7 separate regions of the Homo sapiens genome follow, and regions 2, 3, 4, 5, 6 and 7 are each linked to region 1. Evidence: promoter capture Hi-C in 16 types of primary human blood cells and fetal thymus (Javierre and others, 2016). All regions are on one chromosome and are shown on one strand. Each heading gives the region's core, a stretch centred on a gene start or on the middle of the fragment in contact. The rest is flanking DNA. Distances are from core to core; before and after follow the strand shown.

Region 1 (2,759 bases), core at 88-2,587:
TAATAACATGCACAGAGCTGTCATCTGATGGTAACAATAACTGGGGCCAGGCACAGTGGCTCACACCTGTAATCCCAGCACTTTGGGAGGCTGAGGTGGTTGGATCACCTGAGGTCAGGAGTTCGAGACCAGCTTGGCCAACATGGTGAAACCCTGTCTCTACTAAAAATACCAAAAAATTAGCCAGGCATGGTGGCGCATGCGTTTAATCGCAAGGGATTTGGGAGGCTGAGGCAGGAGAATCACTTGAACCTGGGAGGCAGAGGTTGCGGTGAGCCGATATCGTGCCATTGCATTCCAGCCTGGGCGATAAGAGCGAAACTCCATCTTAAAAAAAAAAAAAACAAAAAAACAAAACAAAACAAAAAAACACAATACTTGGAATACGTGGAAAAAAATCACAATACTTAGAATACCTAGAATACCTTCTGAAGGACCTGCCTGAGGCTGCTTTACAGTTAACTTAAAAAAAAAAGTAGAAGGAGTACACTCTAAAATAGTGATAAAAACTACAGTGAATTCATAAACTAGTAACATAGTTCTTACCATTATCAAGTATTATGTACTGTACATAATCATATGTGCTATACTTTCACATGACTGGCAGTGCAGGTTTGTTAACACCAGCATCACTCCAAACATGTGAGTAATGCTTGTGCTATGACCTTATGGTGGCTACTGTGCCACTAGGTGATAGACATTTTTCAGCTCCATTATCATCTTAGGGGGCCTCCCTCGTGTTTGCAGTCCATTGTAGACCAAAATGTCCTTATGTGGCACATGACTGTAGTTGCAATACAGGACAAGAAAGTTGCACAATAACTGGGCCTTAGTTCCTGATACTTAGTAGCTGGATGACTTTGAGCACTCTAAGGTTGTTTCCTAATAACGTAAAATAGGGAAGCTAATCGTGATCCGGTTGCCTCACAGGTTGTTGGGCCCTGGTCAACATATAAGTTACTGTGCCAAAAAATGAGTTGATATAATTTAAGACTGTGTTGAATCACAAACGTTAAGTTATTCTAACATTATTGTTTTTTAGAGGTTATGAAATGAAAGGGGGGGGGGCGAAAAACTTGGTCCGCATCAAGAACTGAATCATTTTACCACGCTGGGTGCTGGGTTATACTCTCCCCACCCAGCAGATCAAACTCCTAACCCAGCATGAAAGATAAACTACAACTCCCGGCAGGCCTTGCTTCCGAACTGCGTCTTATAACCTCGGCTCAGGCCCAGGCCCAGACCGCTCCCCGCCCCCGCCACCCATAAACTACATCTCCCAGGAGGCCCCACGGTGCCCGATTGTCCGCTTTTCGCCCGCCCCCTGCCTCCTCTTCACCCCGCGCCAGCAGCTCGGTGGCCGAGTCGGTCCCGCGGCCGGCGGATCGGGCGCGCGCGTCGGGGGTCGTCCGGCTGCCAGGCAGGGCGAGCACGCGCCGGGAGGCCTTGGAGGCGTAGGGGGCGGGGGTACGGCTCGCCTGCTCGCAAGATGGCGGACGAGGACGGGGAAGGGATTCATCCCTCAGCCCCTCACAGGAACGGAGGTGGCGGCGGCGGCGGGGGGTCTGGGCTCCACTGCGCCGGGAACGGCGGCGGGGGAGGCGGCGGCCCGCGGGTCGTGCGCATCGTCAAGTCCGAGTCCGGCTACGGCTTCAACGTGCGGGGCCAAGTGAGCGAGGGCGGGCAACTGCGGAGCATCAACGGGGAGCTGTACGCGCCGCTGCAGCATGTGAGCGCCGTGCTGCCCGGGGGGGCGGCCGATCGGGCCGGGGTGCGCAAGGGGGACCGCATCCTGGAGGTGTGAGTATCGGGGCTACCCGCCGCCCCATCCTCCCCGCGCCCCTCCTGCCCCTGCACTCCTCGCTACCCTTGTCACCCCCAGGCCGCACCTCCCCCGAGCTCCGAGCCGGCCTCCGGACCCCCGCCCCTCAGGCCTCCGCAGCCGGGCCCCTCCTTGTGGGCTGCCCTCCCACCACCCGCCCCGGGGCTTCTGCGACGCCGGTCTCCCACCCCGTCGTCTCCAGCTGATGCCCTTGCGCCCCCAGTGCTCCTCCCTGTGCCCCGATTACTCTGGGCTCTTCTCCGCCCCTTTGCCTTCCCGTTTGGCGTGCTGCATTCTGCTCCTCACTCCCCCTCGTCTTGCTCAGAAGGAACCTCATCTGCTCCTTACTGACGGCGTTTCGTTTTCTGATCCAGCCAGTACCGTGTCCCCCCCAAGTTCTCATCTTCAGCATCGCAGTTTCGTTCTCCACCACTCCCCTCCGCCCCCGTGGACTGCCCCTTCTGCCCTCCAGACCAAGTAGGCAGGACCTCTGGTCTGCTCCTACTTTTCCTCCGGAAACACCATCCCTCCCCGCTCGTCTCCTTTTTCTTTCCTTAGTTACCCTCTCCTCATGGTTACGCTGCCCCTAAATTTTTCCATCCCACCGTGTGCCCCTTTCCTCCCCTCCTTTTTGTATTTCTACTCCAAGAGTTTACCTTGCTTTCTGACCCTTGCATGCCTTTGGGGTGGGGGGCGTGGGATTTGACACCGTAGTTTCTCTTCTCGGTTGGCCCCGTATCACACCCTAATTTGGAATCTAGCGTCTCCATCAGCACACCCCTCTGAGAGCATCCCTTCCCTGGCCTCCTGCCTTCACTCCTGCTCTATACTCATGCCTCCTCCTAGTCAGGTTTATGGTAGACCCCTTGTAACTCCTCCTCCTTCAAAACTACTTCAAGCCCTTTTTGGGTCTTTGACCGCTTTGCTTTTTTAGGGC
Region 2 (2,759 bases), core at 68-2,567, 230 kb before region 1:
TAATTAAAACTACATAAAAATTAAGCTATATAGTTTTAACTAGTTAAATTTATATTTATTTATTTATTCATCCATCTATACGTTCATAGAAAAGGATTTGGCTTATGATTGATGTCAGTATTTTGGGAGGCTGAGGCAGGCAGATTGCTTGAGCCCAGGGGTTTGTGACCAGCCTGGGCAACATAATGAGACACCGTCTCTACAAAAAATTAAAACAATTTAGGCCTGGCAGGCTCCTGTAGTCCTAGCTACTTCGGGGGTGGGGAAGGTGTGCTGAGGTGGGAAGATTGTTTAAGCCCTGGAGGTCGAGGCTGCAGTGAGCTGTGATTGCACCACTGCACTCTGGTCTGGGTGGCAGAGTGAGACGCTGTCTCAAAAAAAAAAAAAAGTAGGCCGGGCGTGGTGGCTCACTCCTGTAATTCCAGGACTTGGGGAGGCCGAGGCGGGCGGATCACGAGGTCAGGAGATCGAGACCATCCTGGCTAACACAGCGAAACCCCATCTCTACTAAAAATACAAAAAAAAAAAAAAAAAAAAAAATTAGCCGGGCATGGTGGCAGGCGCCTGTAGTCCCAGCTACTTGGGAATCTGAGGCAGGAGAATGGCATGAACCCGGGAGGTGGAGGTTGCAGTGAGCTGAGATCGTGCCACTGCACTCCACCCTGGGCGACAGAGCAAGACTCCGCTTAAAAAAAAAAAAAAAAACCTAAAGAAAAGGATTTGTAGAGATAAAGCTTCCCTTATCATGCCAAATGTAGCTAACAGTGGTTACCTCAAGAATTGGATTACAGGGAGCAATTTTTATTTTTCACATTATGTATCAATCATATTTTTAAAATTTTATATTAAGTTTGAAATACATGTGTAAACAATTGAAACAGTGAAAGAATACAGTAACATTTTTGCCTATAAGATGGGCAAAAAATTTAAAGGTTAAAATCTTGTATTGGTGAGACTATGCGGCAAAGGGACCACTCATTTAGGACTAATGAGAGTGTCAATTGGTGCCTTACTAACAAAAACAATTTGTCAATACCTCACAAAAGTTAAACTGTGCATACTGTTTTACCTAGGAATTTCACTTCAAGGATGCAATCCCATGGAAATACCTGCACAAGTAGGCAAGAAACAGGTACAGGTTGAGGCGGTGGCTCACGCCTGTAATCCCAGCACTTTGGGAGGCTGAGGCAGGTGGATCCCCTGAGGTCAAGAGTTCGAGACCAGCCTGGCCAACATGGCAAAACCCTGTCTCTACTAAAAGTATAAGAATTAGCCTGGCGTGGTGGCACACACCTGCAATCCCAGCTACTTGGGAGGCTGAGGCAGGAGAATCACTTGAACCTGGGAGGTGGAGGTTGCAGCGAGCCAAAATTGCACCACTGCATTGCAGCCTGGGGCGACAGAGGGAGACTCTGTCTAAAAAAAAAAAAAAAAAAGAAAAAAGATATAGGTACAGGTTGAGCATCCTTAATCTGAAAATCTGAAATCCAAAATGCTCCAAAATCTGAAATGTTTTGAGCACCAGTGTGACACCACAGGTAGCAAATTGCGTGCCTGACCTCACGTGTTGGGTCACAGTCAAGACTTTGTTTCATGTACAAATTATTTAAAATATTGTATAAAGTTACCTTCAGGCTATGTGTATAAGGTGTTTATGAAACACAAATAAATTTGCGTTTAGACTTGGGTCCCATCCCCAAGATATTTTAATATATATATATGTATTCCAAAATCTGAAAAAAATCTGAAATCTGGAACACTTCTGGTCCCAAGCAGTTTGGATAAGGGATACCCAAACTGTAATAATAAAATAACAACAGCTATCATTTATTAAATACATGGTACTGTTCGAAGTACTTAGGGATAAAGAAAGAGAAATGAACCACATCCACCTCATATAAAAGCTTTCCATGTGCCAAGTACTTCTCTGAGCTATTTGCATGTTCTGCCTTTACTTATACAGGGTTTACAACATCCCTATGAAGTGGGTATTTTCATTATGTCCAATTTACAGATAAAGAAGTTACAGCATAGAAAGAGGAAGCAACTCATACAAAGTTACACAGCTAGTGAGTAGCAGAGCCCAGGATCTGAAGCCAGGCAGTAGCTTCAGGCTCTGGCCTGGGACCTCTATGCACATAAGTTCGCAGCCCCTTCAGACAGAATGCTTTTGTGTTTTGTTGCTTGGATGGCTGGCCAGCACATTCAGCCCTTTCTATATTGGGTGGGAGGCAAAAGGCCAGATACTCACCGTCCCAGGCCTTAGGCCTCCTTGCTGCTAGGAGCAAGCATGTGACTTGGTCTTGGACGCAGCCAGGTGTGCCCACCGGAGACTCCAACACAAGGAAGTAGGGAGTGGGTTCTGGTTGCTGCAGGGAAGGCTGGTGTGCGGGTGGGTCACCATGCTGCAGAACCTCCCAGGGTCCAGCGCAGCTGGTGGTGCCATGGCAGCACATAGAACTTGAGGGGTAGAGGCAGTGTCCTTTGATTGGGATCTAGGACAAGAAAGGGCTCTCTGGCTGCAACCACTTCTGCCACTGGGGCCTTATGATCGAGCAGATCCAGTGATGCTTGGTGAGTTGGGGTGATCCATGGGATGAGGCAGGCAAGAGGCAGAAGGAGAGTCCCCAGGGTGACCCCAAATGATTGAGCCCAGCCCACTTCAGCAAAGAACAGTTCTCTTGAAAAACAGCCTCTTCTGAGCTTCTGGGTCCCAAGAGAAACCAAACATGAGAGGATGGGACACCAGGTGGCCTTTG
Region 3 (2,759 bases), core at 260-2,759, 200 kb before region 1:
CACAAATGATAGCACTTGTCTATACCTTGCTGTTTTCTCACTTAACACATCAGTATATACAGATATGTCTCCTGGTGAGACCACTTTGAGGATTCAGTCTGCCTAGTATTGAAGTCCTTCAAAAATAGAACCCATGTCTATGATTTTCTTTAGTAGGATAACAAAGCTCTGTAAGCTTAGGCTAAGAGACAATTTCCATGCCCCTATTTGGAAATACAGTTGTGGTAGACAATCAGCAGTCACTACTGTGCAAAGGAGACTATGAGTGTAATAGGGTACATATGTTTGTGTGCATATGTATGTGACTATTAAGCACACATGCACTCATCTTATTCTCCATTTTGAATCCTCTCTTATATACTATATACCTTTCACTCTCCTCTAGTGGCTCTCTTCTTGTAGTATTTTAAAACGAAGTCATAGCTTTTCATCTTATAAGGAAAATAAAAGCAATAAAAAACTCTTCTTTGCCACTTCTTCCTCTGGATTTACCTACCCTGGGTCCTCCCTTTTTATAAATAAACTTCTTTAAATACATCGTCTTCATTTCCTTACCTCTCATTCATTTGTTCTGCTGAAATGTGACTTCCACCCTACCAACCAACAAAATGGCTCTCATCAATGTTGCTAAATTAAAGGCCTGTTTCTAAGTCTCTATGTTGCTTGACACCTTCCTGTAACATATGACATTTTGATCACACCCTTTTCTTTAAAACACTTTCTTCTCCCCAGTTTCCTTAAGGTTAAGACTCTTCTGGTTTTCCTCCTAGTACTATGGTGGTTGCTTTATAGATAAGGGACTTCAAATATCCTAAGCCTTCTCTTATTCTCAACAGGGTTGGGGGGCCCATGGTATTTAAGTTTAAAATCTATAGGATTTATATAACGCTGATTCCTAAATCTTTTCTACAACCCAGAGTTCTCTCACAGGCTTGAGATCTATTATCCAACAGCTACACTTGACATCCACAGATACTGCTAACTTACAATATCCAAGCTCATGATCTCCCCCCTCACAAATATACTTTCTCTATTGTTTCTATTTCAGCAAATAGTTCCCTCATTCACCCAACTGCCCAAGACAGAATCTTAGGCACTATTCTTAACTACTGCATTGCTACCTTCACCTAATCCATCTCTACATCATAAATATCACAAATCTTCTGAATATCTCTCAACTCTACCCTCTTTTTATTTCAAAAGCCAATAGCCACTATCATCTCTCACCTAAACTACTGAAAAAGGCCTTCTAGCTAGTTTCCCTAACTGTAGTCTCAATCTCCTTTAATCCATTCTCTGCAGTGCAGGCAGTATAAAGCCTTAACTAAAGCTGAACACATCACTCCAGGGCTTAAAACCCCTTTAGTGGCTTCCCAGTGAATTCTTTTCATGGCTTAAAAGATCCTCCATGATCTGTCCCTGCCTAACTTCCAACCCCTCTGTCTCTTACACCCTACACTGAATCTCTCTCAATTTCTTGAACCTCCACAATTTTGCTTTGTGCCTTGGGCACACTGTTCTTCGTCTTATTTCATCTGGCTCATTCTTATTCATCCCTCAGGTATTGAACAACACTTCTTTCTGGAAGCCTTACTAGGCACCCAGAATAGCTATGTGATTTTCTATATCCTATAATTTCCCCAACACAGTACTCTTCATGTTTTATTGTATTGTTTGCCTTGTTTACTACTAAATCTCTAGCATCTAGACTAGTACATGGCACATTAAGTGAATTCAATAAATTTCTGCAAACATATGCATATTATAATCTCTGCCCAAATTATTTGCCTAGCTCAGCCCTGGCCCCAGCATCCATGTTTAAAAAAAAAAAAAACAAGAGAATATGGGAATTGCTTGGTGCCTAGTACCTGGTGCCTCATGTAATGCTGTTGGAATGCATTGCCATTTTTGAAGACCTTCAGGCAATAAGGGCAGAGCAGATGCCGGGTATCCTCATGGATCATCCGAAAATGGACATCTACCTCAGAGTAGAGTGAGGAGCGATATTGACACACCTGAGTCACATAGGAGGGAAAATAAGGCTAAGAATGAAGTGAACAACTGAGAGGCCTTAAAAAAAAAGGTAGCAACAAAAATTTTTAAATTAAAAAAAAAAAGTTTTCTCAAATGCATAGAAATCAAATTATTTTCCTGACTTTGTAATGCTGGGCTATGTTTGTGATAGGTTTAGCTATTACTTTAAAAATAGGAAGGGACAGAAAGTCTAAGAATAATCCATGTTCTCTAACTAAGAAAAATAAAGCCTTTTCTGTCAATTTCCAAAGGGCACGTTCAGGAGACAGACACTCCCTTAGAATATGCACATGTTCCCGGCTAGTCTACTTGTGGACATGTTCTTTTATGTTTTTCTCCTGCATGGAAACCCTGAAGATAAACTGTGTTTACTATTTCTTCTGTACCTACTCAGAGTTCCTAAACTGAGTGTATGCAGTAGGTGGTCAACAATATTCATTAGTAAATTCTTTGTATTCTTCCTGAGGGCAAAACTGCTAAAACTCCCTGGAGAAAAAGGCAATACCTGGCAAACATAAGGCATCTCTCCAGGCTTATGAGTATCCTTCATATGCTGGAGAAATAGTGGCTCACTTTCAAACGCCCATTCACAGATCTTGCACTTGGCTGTAAGAAGAAAAGTAATCAATAAATCCACTTGAAAATAAGACAAAAGTCCTGCTGACTCACAATCTTTATTTTCTCTGCCTCCTTTATTTTGATTTTCAACAATCAGTAAATCATAG
Region 4 (2,759 bases), core at 167-2,666, 180 kb before region 1:
TTTTTTTGAGACAGGGTGTCGTTCTGTTGCAGTGGCATGCTCATGGCTCACTGCAGGCTCAACCTTCTGGGTTCAAGCCCAAGCCATCCTCTCACCTCAGACTTCTGAGTAGCGAGGACTGCAGACATACACCACCACGCCTGGCTAATCTTTTTTTTTTTTTTTTTTGTAGAGATGGGATCTCACCATGTTGCCCAGGCTGGTCTCAAACTCCTAGGCTCAAGTGATCCTCCCGTCTTGGCCTCCCATAATGCTGGGATGAGGTGTGAGCCACTATACCTTGCGGTTTTTATTTTTAAATGGTTGAAATAAAAGAATAAAACTTTTCGACACATGAAAATTTTATGAAACTTAAATTTCAGAGTCCATAAATAGTTTTTAGTGGAGCACAGCCATGCTCATTCGTTTATGTATCTGTGGCTGCTTCCCCACCACAACAGCACAGTTAATAGCTGCAACAGAGGCTATATATTGTGCACAAAGCCTACAACTTTACTACTAGGCCCTTTACAGAAAACATTTGCCGACCCCTGCTCTAGACCACTGAAAACCCTCATGCTCATCATTCTCAACCTGAAGATCTCTCTACCAAATCCTAACTTTAAAACCTTGCTCAGAAATCCATCTCTTCCATGAAGTTATCTTTCATTATCTCACCCATCTTTAATCAATCAATTTCACTAATCTCCAAAGCACAATTACACACATAATTTCTTGGAGCTGATTCAGTTACACTTTTTGTAAGTGGCTTTCTCCTTACTAAAGTTTCTGTAAGAACAAACTACAGCAGCTGTATTTTATTTTATTTTTCTATTTCTGAGTATAAAGCTCTGATACAACAAACACTTTATTAATGTTTTTGAATGACTGGCTGCTCAGAGTCTTTCAGGTTATTGTACCTTTCATTGAAGACTCAGGTCCGCTGGTTCTTTGAGAGCCATGAGCAGAGCTGTTGTTGGACACCACCACTGGCCCAGGACTCTGGCCCAGGGAAGGGATGGTGTTAAGGGTATTCACCAATTTGGCCACTTCATTGCTATTTTCGCCTGTAACACCAGGTCGCTTCACAGTGACAAAGCTGGCAATGCTCACTGCAGGTGGAGAGGGGAAGGAGGGAGCTACGGTGACCAAGTGATAATCATCTGTTCTCCACCCACCATCCCAACCTGGCTCTGCCATCTCCTCTTCCGAAGCCTTACCTAGCTTGGGATTCGTGGTCTGGTTTGACTGGCCTGGAGACTGAACAGCTAGTTGCCCCAGTGAGGTTGGCTGTGTGGCAGTGGGAGTGGTAGAAGTGCTGGGAGTGGACTTGGTCTGCTGGGACTGGGACTGTGGGACGGTGCTTCGAATGGTAAGAGTGGCCGGGATGACGGTGGTGAAGGTGTTGGTGGTGGGCCTCACAGGCATTGTGGAGCCTGGCCTCACAGGGGTCATCTGGGAGAACACTTGTGGAACTCCAACTGTCGGCTTAACAAACTGGGTACCTGGGGCTTTAAAAGAGAGACAAAGTACCAGATCTTGGTCAGTGAGCTCACCTATAACACATTCTCCCTGCCTTTACTGGAAAGATTATTTCCCCAAACTGATGGATGATCATCAGAGGTTTCCAAGAGGAGTATAGATTCTAAAGACTAAGAAAGCACAAGGTGTCCATGTTGACAAAATAACCTGGGCAGCCTAAAAACATTAAGTTAAATAAGACTCCCATCAACTCCTCCTAAAACACCTTATCACACTGCCTTTTTAATTCTAAGAATACAATCAGTGGCTTGACCTCGGTACTGGAAGAAAAGAGTGGGAAGCAATATGGGTGTATATAGGCCAAATGGCAAACCTGGTCCTGAAAAAAGAAATCAGTCTTTCTCAGAGTACTAAAGGAGTCTTCCATCCTCTTCTATCAACTCAGAAGACAGACTATGCCATTCTACTAGGATGTCCCAAAGAGGAATGTCTCCTGGCTCAACTGTAGACAATTCCACTGAGAAAAATAAAGAAATGCCAGGGTAAGCTGGTCAGACTTAAACCCCTATGGGCTACGAGAACAAAAAACAAAACCTTAGGAAGACAAGCTACAGAGGTACCCTTACAAATAGCTAAATTAAGATACTCTTTTTTGGTCTGAATTGTAGTAAACTTATACATGCTAAATAGAGCAATGGAAAATTCTAAGATTTTAAAAAAATTATCCTTCTCAGAATCTTAAAAAAAAAAAAAACTATCTAGCAGAATCTTAAAAAAAAAAACTATCTAGTCATTGACAGTATTTATCCATAAAAGGAATGTCATTTGTTTATATCTAAAATCTATGCTATAAAATTAAAACAAAGTTTATAATCCCACCGTGCAAATGAGGAGATGTGTAAGGAGTGTAGAATTTATGAGTTTGCATTAATAACATAGTCTTAATAGCTGACTAAATACCAGTTACAGAAAAATGACTGTAAACTCTGTTTTACTACTTGATGAAGGGTGGTGAAAAGCTAAACAGAAATAAATAAAACCACCACCCTGGCCAAAGGTTAGAAGCAGATTTTTTAAAATTGGGCTTAAATCATTAATATTTTTATATTTTTAGATTTTCTTTAAATGTACTTACTAAATGACTTAGGATATTTAGAACAATAAAAACAAATCTTCTGGATGCCAGTTTATTCCAAATGGATAGACATTTTTCCTTACCTGGAACTAGTGTAATTGGTCTAACCGTTTGGCCTTGCTGTACGTTCAGCACAATCCCAACCTGATTCATTGCATTTTGT
Region 5 (2,759 bases), core at 82-2,581, 170 kb after region 1:
GTCTTTCATAAAAGCACTGCTCCACAAGTTCTCCTTGCTTCTACTACATGATTAACGTTTTCTTTCCTCTCTACTGGATAGTCCCATCAGCAGACAAACATTCTCTGTTCTTAAAGAAAACCCTTCCTGGATTTCACTTCAACTACTTCCCATTTCTTTTCTTCCTTTTAAAGGAAAACTCGAGTGTCAATATATCTGTCCTCAAGTTCTCTTCTTAAATCCACTCTAACTGCTCACATCAGAGTCACCAATGATTTCATACTGCTCAATCCAAAGATCGATTCTCAGTTTTCATCTTACCAGATGTCCCCACAGTATTTGGCACAGCTGATGATTCCCTCTTCTCTGAAACACATTCTCCATAGCACACCCTCCTGGTTTTCCTCTTTCCTTTCTGGCTATTCCATCAGTCTCCCAGTTGCTGGTTTCTTCACATTTTTCTAACCTCTAAACACTGGAGTGCCTCAGGGATCTGTCCTTCGCCCTCTTCTCTGTTCTACCTCACTTTCTTGGTGATCTCAAGTCTCATTCACGGACTGGCTTTAACTCCTATCTAGATGCTGATAACTTCCAAATTAATAGATCCATTTAGGACCTTTCTCAACTGCCTACATGGATCTCCATTTGATGTCTAATAGACATCTCAAACTTAACACTGAGCTCCTGATTCACCCCCTTCCCATAATCTTTGCCATCTCAGCAAATGGCAATTCGTTTTTTTTTTTTTTTTTGAGACAAGGTCTTTCTCTGTTGCCAGGCTGGAGTGCAGTGGCGCAACCATGGCTCACTGCAGCCACAACCTCTGGACTCAAGCAATCCTCCCATCTCTCAGCCTCCCAGTAGCTGAGACTACAGGTGCATGCCACCATGCCCGGCTAATTTTTGTATTTTTTGTAGAGAAAGGGTTTCACCATGTTGCCCAGGCTGGTCTCAAACTCCTGGGCTCAAGTGATCCACCAACCTCAGCCTTCCAAAGTGCTGAGATTACAGGTGTGAACCACTGTGCTCTGCCTCGACTGCATTCTCTTACTCCCTTAGTCATCCTCTCTCTCACACTGCACACCTAGCCTGTCAACAAATCTTATTTGCTCTACCTTCAAATCATCCAGAATCTGACCACTTTTTCTCTTTGCAGTTCTATGACCCTGCTCTAAAACACCATTATCTTTTCCCTAGATTACTGCATTGCTTAATTACGTTCCTGCCTTTGCCATTGTCCATTCAGTTTATTCTCAACACAAGAGCTGGAGTAAGTACTATGTGCTAGATGCTACTGTGGCACTAAAGACACAAAAATGAAGAGATAATGTGTTGAGTAGCTACTATGCCAGGCAAATTACATAATTTTATTTTACAGTCATATAACCCTGTAAGGCAGGAAATATTAATCCCATAGAAGAGTACCCATGCTTGAAGAGGTTATCTAATCTCTAACCCAGAGTCTGGGTTATTCTTGCTTGTAAAAAACCTTGTAAAGTGATTTTAGAAATCCTTCCCCACTCTTCCTTTTACCTAAGCTCTTAGGGTAACAGCACCTGTATTTTTATTCTTTATTTTGATCAACATATTCAATTCAAAATTAATACTGGTAGAAAGTACTGTAGGTGGTTAAAAAAACACTGAAGACTAAAAAACTAAAGATAGGTGATAAAAAACTGAAAACTAAATATCTGTATTTCCAGATATTACAATCTAGTAGAACAAAGCAAGCTGGCTTTAAATAAGATTTGCTTAAAAATGAGTAAATGTAACTTATGCCATAATTTACCTCCAGGTACAAAAATTCAACCCAAATAATTATAATAAACAAAAATGTATTTCACCCTGGGGGGAAAAACTGGCTATATCCTGGTAAGGCTAAAAACATACTCATTAATACAAAACCTACTGTGGAATAAAACTTAGGCTTTCAGGGAAAGCACAGTCAATCTGGAAGAGTAAAGAGAGAAAGGAGAACATCTAGCACCGAAATCTCACTGAGGAGCAGATATAGTCAGGTAAGGGAGGCTGGAGGTAGATTTCTTACAACAGTCATCCTCTCTTATCCTCGAGGAATATGTTCCAAGAACCCCAGTGGATGCCTTGGAGTACTGAAAACTATAGGTTTTTTCAATCTGATAACCAAGATGGCTACTAAGTGACTAAGAGGCGGGTAGCATATACAGCATGGATATGCTGGACAAAGGCAGGATTCTCGTCTGGGCCAGGATGGAGATTTCACCATGCTAGTCAGAATGGTGCACAATTTAAAACTTAAGAATTGTTTACGTATGGAACTTCCCATTTAATCTTTTTGGACCAGGATTGACTATGGGTAAGTGAAAGCAAAACCACGGAGAAGGGTAGACTACTACACTGTCATACAGATGACCAGAATTTGCATCTGGCCTCACAGCTTTACTGATCAACAGAACTGAATAAAGTTCTTCAGAGAACTACCAGAAGTTTGCCAAATCTATTTTTTCTATATCCTGGTTTTAAACAAATTTAATCCACCTTCTTGCCCGGACTCAAAAGCCTGAGCAAATAATAAAACGGCCTTTTACTACCCGAGGTGGGGGATGGGTACCTCTTTTCAAGGGTGTCGTCTATTTTGGGTCATTAGTTACTCAGTGAATTCAGTATATCATTTTTAGAGACTATCAATCTGAGGGAATACTGTTCTCTCCCGACCTTTTTAGAATGTAGGACAGAAAGGGTTGAGGTTAATGTAGGCTGTTTGTTTTCATTTATGAGGTTCTTTTCCCAAGTCATTGGAT
Region 6 (2,759 bases), core at 165-2,664, 160 kb before region 1:
CATTTTCACTTAATATACATTTCTTAAGACATAGCAAAATAGTTAAATAAGAAATAACAAATTAAGGTGGATTATGTAGGCTACCAAGGAGGTACATTACTTTCTTCCATTAATCCATTATTTGACATCTTGGTAACCTAGGTGGTTTCTCTATTTTGTAGTAATTGTAACATGATTTTTTTGTGCACTCAATAGGTTTTACTTAACACTGCAGGCTCACACAGAACTATTAGCAATACTCAGTCTCTTGTCTCATCCTTCAATCCATAATATGGGAGTACCAGATAAATACTCTCCTGGAGGGAAGGGGACTATTTCTTAAATGCTGGCGAATATGGTAGTCTATACTAAGGCCCTATATGATCAGCTAGTCAATAAAAGTCTATATAATTGTAAAGGCAAGATAAAAACAGACCTTTTAAAACAATATACTATTTAAAAGCAGCAAAAAGAATCCTGCAGATACACCTGTATACTTTTAAGGTATTTAATGGGCAGCAAATGTTGCCTATCTTCATCTCAAAGAAAATGAGAAAAAGATCTGTTTTCCACAACTATCCTGACATACTTGGTTCTTGAAAGCTCTGAATTCCTTTGTCTTGTTCTTTCATAGCTGTAAAGTCCAGAAATGAAGAATGAAGAATTCAGAAATGAAGAATTTGGTATCTAACGTTTTCAACTTACTGCCAGTACATACCTGCCCAAAAATCAACATAAAAAGAACATTTGGAACAGGAAAAATATTTTACAGAAAACAAACATTTTAAGAATACCACTTTCTTGTTCCAGGGTGAAAAATAAACAATGATAATCCTCAACATAACTGGTAATTATGTTTTCAAGTTACCTCAATTTTTGGCTCTAAAAAGGACTAATACCAGAAAACCTATAGGGCTGAATACTTAATCTGTGTATAAAACTATAGTTAAACATGTAATAAGCTTTTATTTATCCAGTCTTTTGCACAGCCCATTTTGTCCCTCACAACATCTGTTATAGTACCTCATATGTAAGAATCATAAGGGTTTTAAGTAGTCTTAATAACCTAAAATTTCCAAACTCAAAATACTTTCCTCTTGTCTGGTAGCCAATCCTGTATCAAGAAACACCCAAATATTTAGTTCTGTGCTCTTTACTAAAACAAGTAAGCAACAAGTTCTCTTCTTTAAAGGGGTTCAATATTCAGGAGTCCCTTTCCCAAGAAAAATATCTATACTATGATGGAAAACTTTTCTTCAATGACAGCTGTGTGTTGCCTAAATTCCATTTCTATGCTTTCAATTTCTTTTAACTCTGCTAACACCTAGCAATAGGTTAGTGTCTCTTTTCTGCTCTCCTCCCCTTGGTTACATATAAAAATACGTTTTTCAGTTGGGCGTGGTGGCTCACGCCTGTAATCCCAGCACTTTGGGAGGCCAAGGCGGGTCGATCAAGAGGTCAGGAGTTTGAGACCAGCCTGATCAATATGGTGAAACCCCATCTCTAGAAAAATACAAAAATTACCCAGGTGTGGTGGCGCGTGCCTGTAATCCCAGCTACTGAGGAAGCTGAAGGAGGAGAATCGCTTGAACCCAGGAGGCGGAGGGTGCAGTGAGCCGAGATTGCGCCATTACGCTCCAGCCTGGGCAATAGAGCGAGACTCCATCTCAAAAAAAAAAAAAAGACAAGTTTTTGTGAATATGGCTTAATATCACAAACAAGAATACCAAAGAATCTATCAAAATGTTACCATATTGATATTATGGCAAAGGCATTAACCAGCTCTAGGATTTGTAATCAACCAGCTCTAAAGTTTTTATTTTACAGATAAGGTCAAAACAGTGGTTTAGAGAGACGAAGTAACTTCCTCAAGGTTACAGTTAGTAAATATCCCAGTTAGGATTCAAAGCAAGCTTTTTTTGCTTTAGAATTCTTCCCCAGGTCACTGCCTCTTCCATCAACTTCAACTATTTATAAATTCTCCCAAGTTCCCCAAGGGAGTTAGATTTGAATGATGTAAAGAGCAGAAACATAGGACTGACTGAATGATTCTCATTTTTTTGACTCTTAAAATTATTGAAGACGCCAAAGATCTTTTGTTTATGTGAATTTTATCTTTCCACATTTACCACAAATTTTTAAAATGTAGTATTTATCAATGTATTTTAAGACAAGCCCATTATAAGTTAACATAAATAACATTTCAACAAAAAATACTTTCCCTCCAAAAAGTGAGAAAAGTAACGTTGTTTTGCATTTTGCAAATCTCTTTTATGTCTAACTTGATAAAAGATGGTTGGATTCTCACAGTTACTTCTGCATTCAGTCTGTTGCTATATGTAGCTTTGGTTAAGTATATAATGAAAATCTAGTCGGAAAAGGGAGAAGTATTTTAATAACCTTTTCAGATAACTGTGTTTGGTAAATACTAAAACTCAACAAACGGTAGTTTCTTTCTTTTTTTTTTTTTTTTTTTTTTTTAATAAATAGAGACAGGGTCTCACTATGCTGACCAGGCTCAACTCCAACTCCTGGGCTCACACAATCCTTCCACCTTGGCCTCCCAAAGTGCTGGGATTACAGGAGTGAGCCACCACGCTAGGCCAAATAGTAGTTTCTTAAAGGACAGTTAACATTTTGGAATCTGAAACCACATCAATCCACTTTTTTACTGTTAAAATCCATTGCTATGTCTGGAATTTTCAAAGGATCTTTTGCCTTTGCTTGATTTTGCAACATCATGCATTGGTCATTTGCAAAGCCTAGATTTACTGAGTTAT
Region 7 (2,759 bases), core at 68-2,567, 150 kb after region 1:
AAAGCAGTAAAAGAAAAATGAGCCCATGTTAAATAGCATCAAACTATTCCTATGTTGGACATTGGCTGGGCTTCTGCATTCCTGTTCTTCTAGTTCCTATTTCATTTTCAAGTTAAGTTAAATGTCAAAGGGAAGGAAGCTGCAAGAGAAAAGAAGTTTTATCTCCCCAAGTCTCTCTGTCCTTCCTTTGAGCTCACCAATTTCTCCTCTTCAAACAGCTTCTTGTTTTCAGGGGATGCATATACAGCCAGTCCCTGAGGAAGGAGTCGATTCCGGCCTAAAGATTTCTTCACTGAGACCAGGTCACCCCGGACTCCAACATCTGTCAATTAGAACAGAGACAGGGGAATTAGAACCATCTAGGAGTCCCTAAAGAAAAGATGTCAAAAAGAGAAGCACCTCTTAGTTTCTCACAGTGCTTATTTTTCCTAAAAGAAATGCTAATTCATATTCACTAGGAACAAGATTTAAGAGACTGCTAATTAGTTTCTTTAGAACTTGATGTATAAATTTAATATCCCCTGTATAGAGGGAGTTGTCGTCCCATGGAGGATTTCAGTATCTGTGGCACAAATTGTCAGGCTCCTCTCCCCACACACTGTTAATGATGTTGCTGCCTTTATGTTTTAATTTTCAATGCTGGAGGCCAGTGTCACAATCACAATAGTTTTTATGGCTTCCTCTTCTCACATATAGAGTTGGATTGTTTCCACAAAGAAAAAGCAAGGCAAATAGTTGAGGGGGACGGGCTAGAAAAAGCTGATGCCAAACCGGACCAGCCTGAGAGGAAGCGCCTCGGCCCGGGCCTTACTCTCCACCGACTGCGTCAGGATGAGCTCCAGGTTTTCTTTGGGCCGATGCTTCGTGTCCTCCACCAGCTTATAGACGCGATGTCGCCGGTGCAGGCGCGGCTTCCGGCCCTCCCCGGCCAGCGGTACCTTCCACCAGCGCTCCACGATGACCGTGCCCTGGCGGCCAGGAAAGCGACGGTAAGCTAGTCTCCACAAGGAACACCCTCTCCCTCCACCACGGCCGCCAGCCCCTCAAGGAAAGCCCGCCACCCCCACATCGGCCCCCTCCAGGTCCCAGTGCGCCTCCAGAAACAATACTCGAGCGTATCTACCCCCTACCCCAGACTCAGCCCTCACCCGATTTTGAGAAAGGCTGAAGTTGCAGGCCAGGTCAGGGGCGTTCCCTTCATGTCGCGGCCGCAGTAGCTCCTGGACGCCTCCCCGAAGCAGCCGTCCAGCGCCCGCCCGCAGCAGAGCTCTGCCCGGGGCCGTGACAACGGGCGCCGCCATGTTCACAGGCACAGAATGAGACCTGAGGGAGGACCCCGGCGTCGGCGGCAGGAAAGGCCCCCGCCAGTGCTGCCTGCGGCGCGCCGGTACGGCTGAGCGAAAGTATGGGGAGCGGGCCGGGGAACAGATGGCACCGCGGCTTGCCTATTTTTGCTTTTTGGCAGAGGTGACGGACGCCTAGAATTACTGACTGATAATGGAATGAGTGTTAGGTGGACTGACGCCGGAAAAGACGCTCTTCCTCTTGAAAGTGTGGGCTTTGCTGTAGCTCCAGTTGCTGGGCTAACTTTTAATTCTAACGTTCTGTGATGACTGGATACTGACCGGAGAATGAATGATGCTCTCACTTTTCCTTACTTCAAATCTACCTAAAAGTGGTAAAGGATGGGATCCCTTGGAAAACTCTGCCAGCTCCAGGAGGAGCCTGACCCTTAATCATTATACTGCAGTATTTAAGCTAATAAAGGAGAATTCTAAATCACAAGCTATGTAAACCGTAGAAAAAAAAGCAACTATGGTAAGGCCGCGACAGTTCCCTCTGGGGAGGGTCTCAGTACTGGACAGAAGACCATAAAAACTGGATGAAAGAAGGTCCATTTGGCAGAGATTATGGAAAGACTGGCCCTTAAACATACTGACCAGTCCTCCTTCCTCCTAAATACACTACTTGGCCTCCTGGACACCGGTCTTCTTCAGTCTCGTTTGCTGATTTCTCCTTTTCTCCCCGCTTCTTAGAATGCCCTCGGGACTCCGTTTTTGAACCTTTACTCTTCTCAGTATACACTCACTGTTGATCTCATCCAGTCTCGTGGCTTACAATACCATTTATAAGCCAATGACTCCCAAATTTCTAGTTCCATCCTAGACATCTCCCAAACTCGTCTCAAATATTCAACTGTTTATTCGTCATTTTCCTCTTACGTATCCAAAGGACACCTCAAAGTTAACTGTCCCAAACTAATTTATTTATTCCCCCCTCGCCCCCAAAACTGCCCCATCTGCAGCCTTTTTCCTCTCAGTTGACAGAAACTCCATTCTTTCCATTCTAACTCTTTTCTCTCATACTCCATCAGGAAATCCTGTGGGTTCTACCTTTAAATTACAGATAGTCCCTGACTTGGATTTACAATTTTTGAGTTTGTGATGGTGTGAAAGTGATGTGCACTCAGTAGGACATCAATAAGTTACATGAAATATTCAACACTTTATTATAAAATAGGCTTTGTGTTAGATGATTTTACCCAACTGTCGGATAAGTTGTCTGAGCATGTTTAAGATAGGCTAGGCTAAGCTATGGTGTTTGGTAGGTGTATTATATGCATTTTCAACTTATGATACTTTCAACATACGATGGGTTTATCAGGACATAACCCTATTTTAAGTCAAGGAGCACTTGTATTTCCAGAATCCAGCCACTTGTCACCACCTCCAATGCTCTACCTTGGAATAAGACACTAC

The links. The method cuts DNA at HindIII sites, captures the fragments that hold promoters and counts their contacts. A CHiCAGO score of 5 or more calls a contact.
Region 2: a contact is called between a fragment that was not itself captured here and the fragment with the promoter of SNX27 in region 1, in 1 of 17 cell types (M2 macrophages). The highest score is 5.1, in M2 macrophages.
Region 3: a fragment that was not itself captured here is called in contact with the fragment with the promoter of SNX27 in region 1 in 2 of 17 cell types (M2 macrophages and activated CD4 T cells); the score reaches 5.7 in M2 macrophages.
Region 4: a contact is called between a fragment that was not itself captured here and the fragment with the promoter of SNX27 in region 1, in 2 of 17 cell types (erythroblasts and M2 macrophages). The highest score is 5.2, in erythroblasts.
Region 5: a fragment that was not itself captured here is called in contact with the fragment with the promoter of SNX27 in region 1 in 13 of 17 cell types (naive CD4 T cells, fetal thymus, non-activated CD4 T cells and 10 more); the score reaches 8.4 in naive CD4 T cells.
Region 6: a contact is called between a fragment that was not itself captured here and the fragment with the promoter of SNX27 in region 1, in 15 of 17 cell types (M2 macrophages, megakaryocytes, M1 macrophages and 12 more). The highest score is 10.9, in M2 macrophages.
Region 7: a contact is called between the fragment with the promoter of MRPL9 here and the fragment with the promoter of SNX27 in region 1, in 4 of 17 cell types (naive CD4 T cells, total CD8 T cells, total CD4 T cells and 1 more). The highest score is 8.0, in naive CD4 T cells.

Annotation. Positions count from the first base shown.
Region 1 is chr1:151,610,713-151,613,471 of GRCh38, forward strand. It overlaps SNX27 (sorting nexin 27), which reads left to right and starts at 1,338. Exons shown (of 12, transcript NM_001330723.2): 1 at 1,338-1,800. The coding sequence starts at 1,490. LOC124904420 (a long non-coding RNA gene) reads right to left here and starts at 2,656. Exons shown (of 2, transcript XR_007066622.1): 1 at 2,479-2,656; 2 at 1-1,687. RefSeq lists an enhancer at 1,114-1,213 and a silencer at 1,254-1,693. The HindIII fragment of the contact is 5,045 bases long and covers 1-2,759 here.
Region 2 is chr1:151,379,185-151,381,943 of GRCh38, forward strand. No RefSeq gene overlaps it. Among named protein-coding and RNA genes, the nearest start is that of SELENBP1, 7.9 kb to the left of the region's middle. The HindIII fragment of the contact is 1,170 bases long and covers 733-1,902 here.
Region 3 is chr1:151,409,757-151,412,515 of GRCh38, forward strand. It overlaps POGZ (pogo transposable element derived with ZNF domain), which reads right to left. Exons shown (of 19, transcript NM_015100.4): 11 at 2,540-2,640; 12 at 1,869-2,015. Among named protein-coding and RNA genes, the nearest start is that of PSMB4, 12 kb to the left of the region's middle. The HindIII fragment of the contact is 2,672 bases long and covers 174-2,759 here.
Region 4 is chr1:151,426,924-151,429,682 of GRCh38, forward strand. It overlaps POGZ (pogo transposable element derived with ZNF domain), which reads right to left. Exons shown (of 19, transcript NM_015100.4): 5 at 2,680-2,759; 6 at 1,200-1,490; 7 at 900-1,118. Among named protein-coding and RNA genes, the nearest start is that of PSMB4, 29 kb to the left of the region's middle. The HindIII fragment of the contact is 3,154 bases long and covers 1-2,759 here.
Region 5 is chr1:151,784,220-151,786,978 of GRCh38, forward strand. All of the region lies in intron 1 of TDRKH (tudor and KH domain containing), which reads right to left. Among named protein-coding and RNA genes, the nearest start is that of TDRKH, 4.9 kb to the right of the region's middle. The HindIII fragment of the contact is 2,858 bases long and covers 1-2,759 here.
Region 6 is chr1:151,453,459-151,456,217 of GRCh38, forward strand. The region is part of intron 1 of POGZ (pogo transposable element derived with ZNF domain); the gene reads right to left. Among named protein-coding and RNA genes, the nearest start is that of POGZ, 4.7 kb to the right of the region's middle. The HindIII fragment of the contact is 951 bases long and covers 940-1,890 here.
Region 7 is chr1:151,762,179-151,764,937 of GRCh38, forward strand. MRPL9 (mitochondrial ribosomal protein L9) reads right to left here and starts at 1,318. Exons shown (of 7, transcript NM_031420.4): 1 at 1,149-1,318; 2 at 812-968; 3 at 198-322. The coding sequence starts at 1,301. It also overlaps a transcript of OAZ3 not described here. RefSeq lists an enhancer at 1,089-1,468. The HindIII fragment of the contact is 8,401 bases long and covers 1-2,759 here.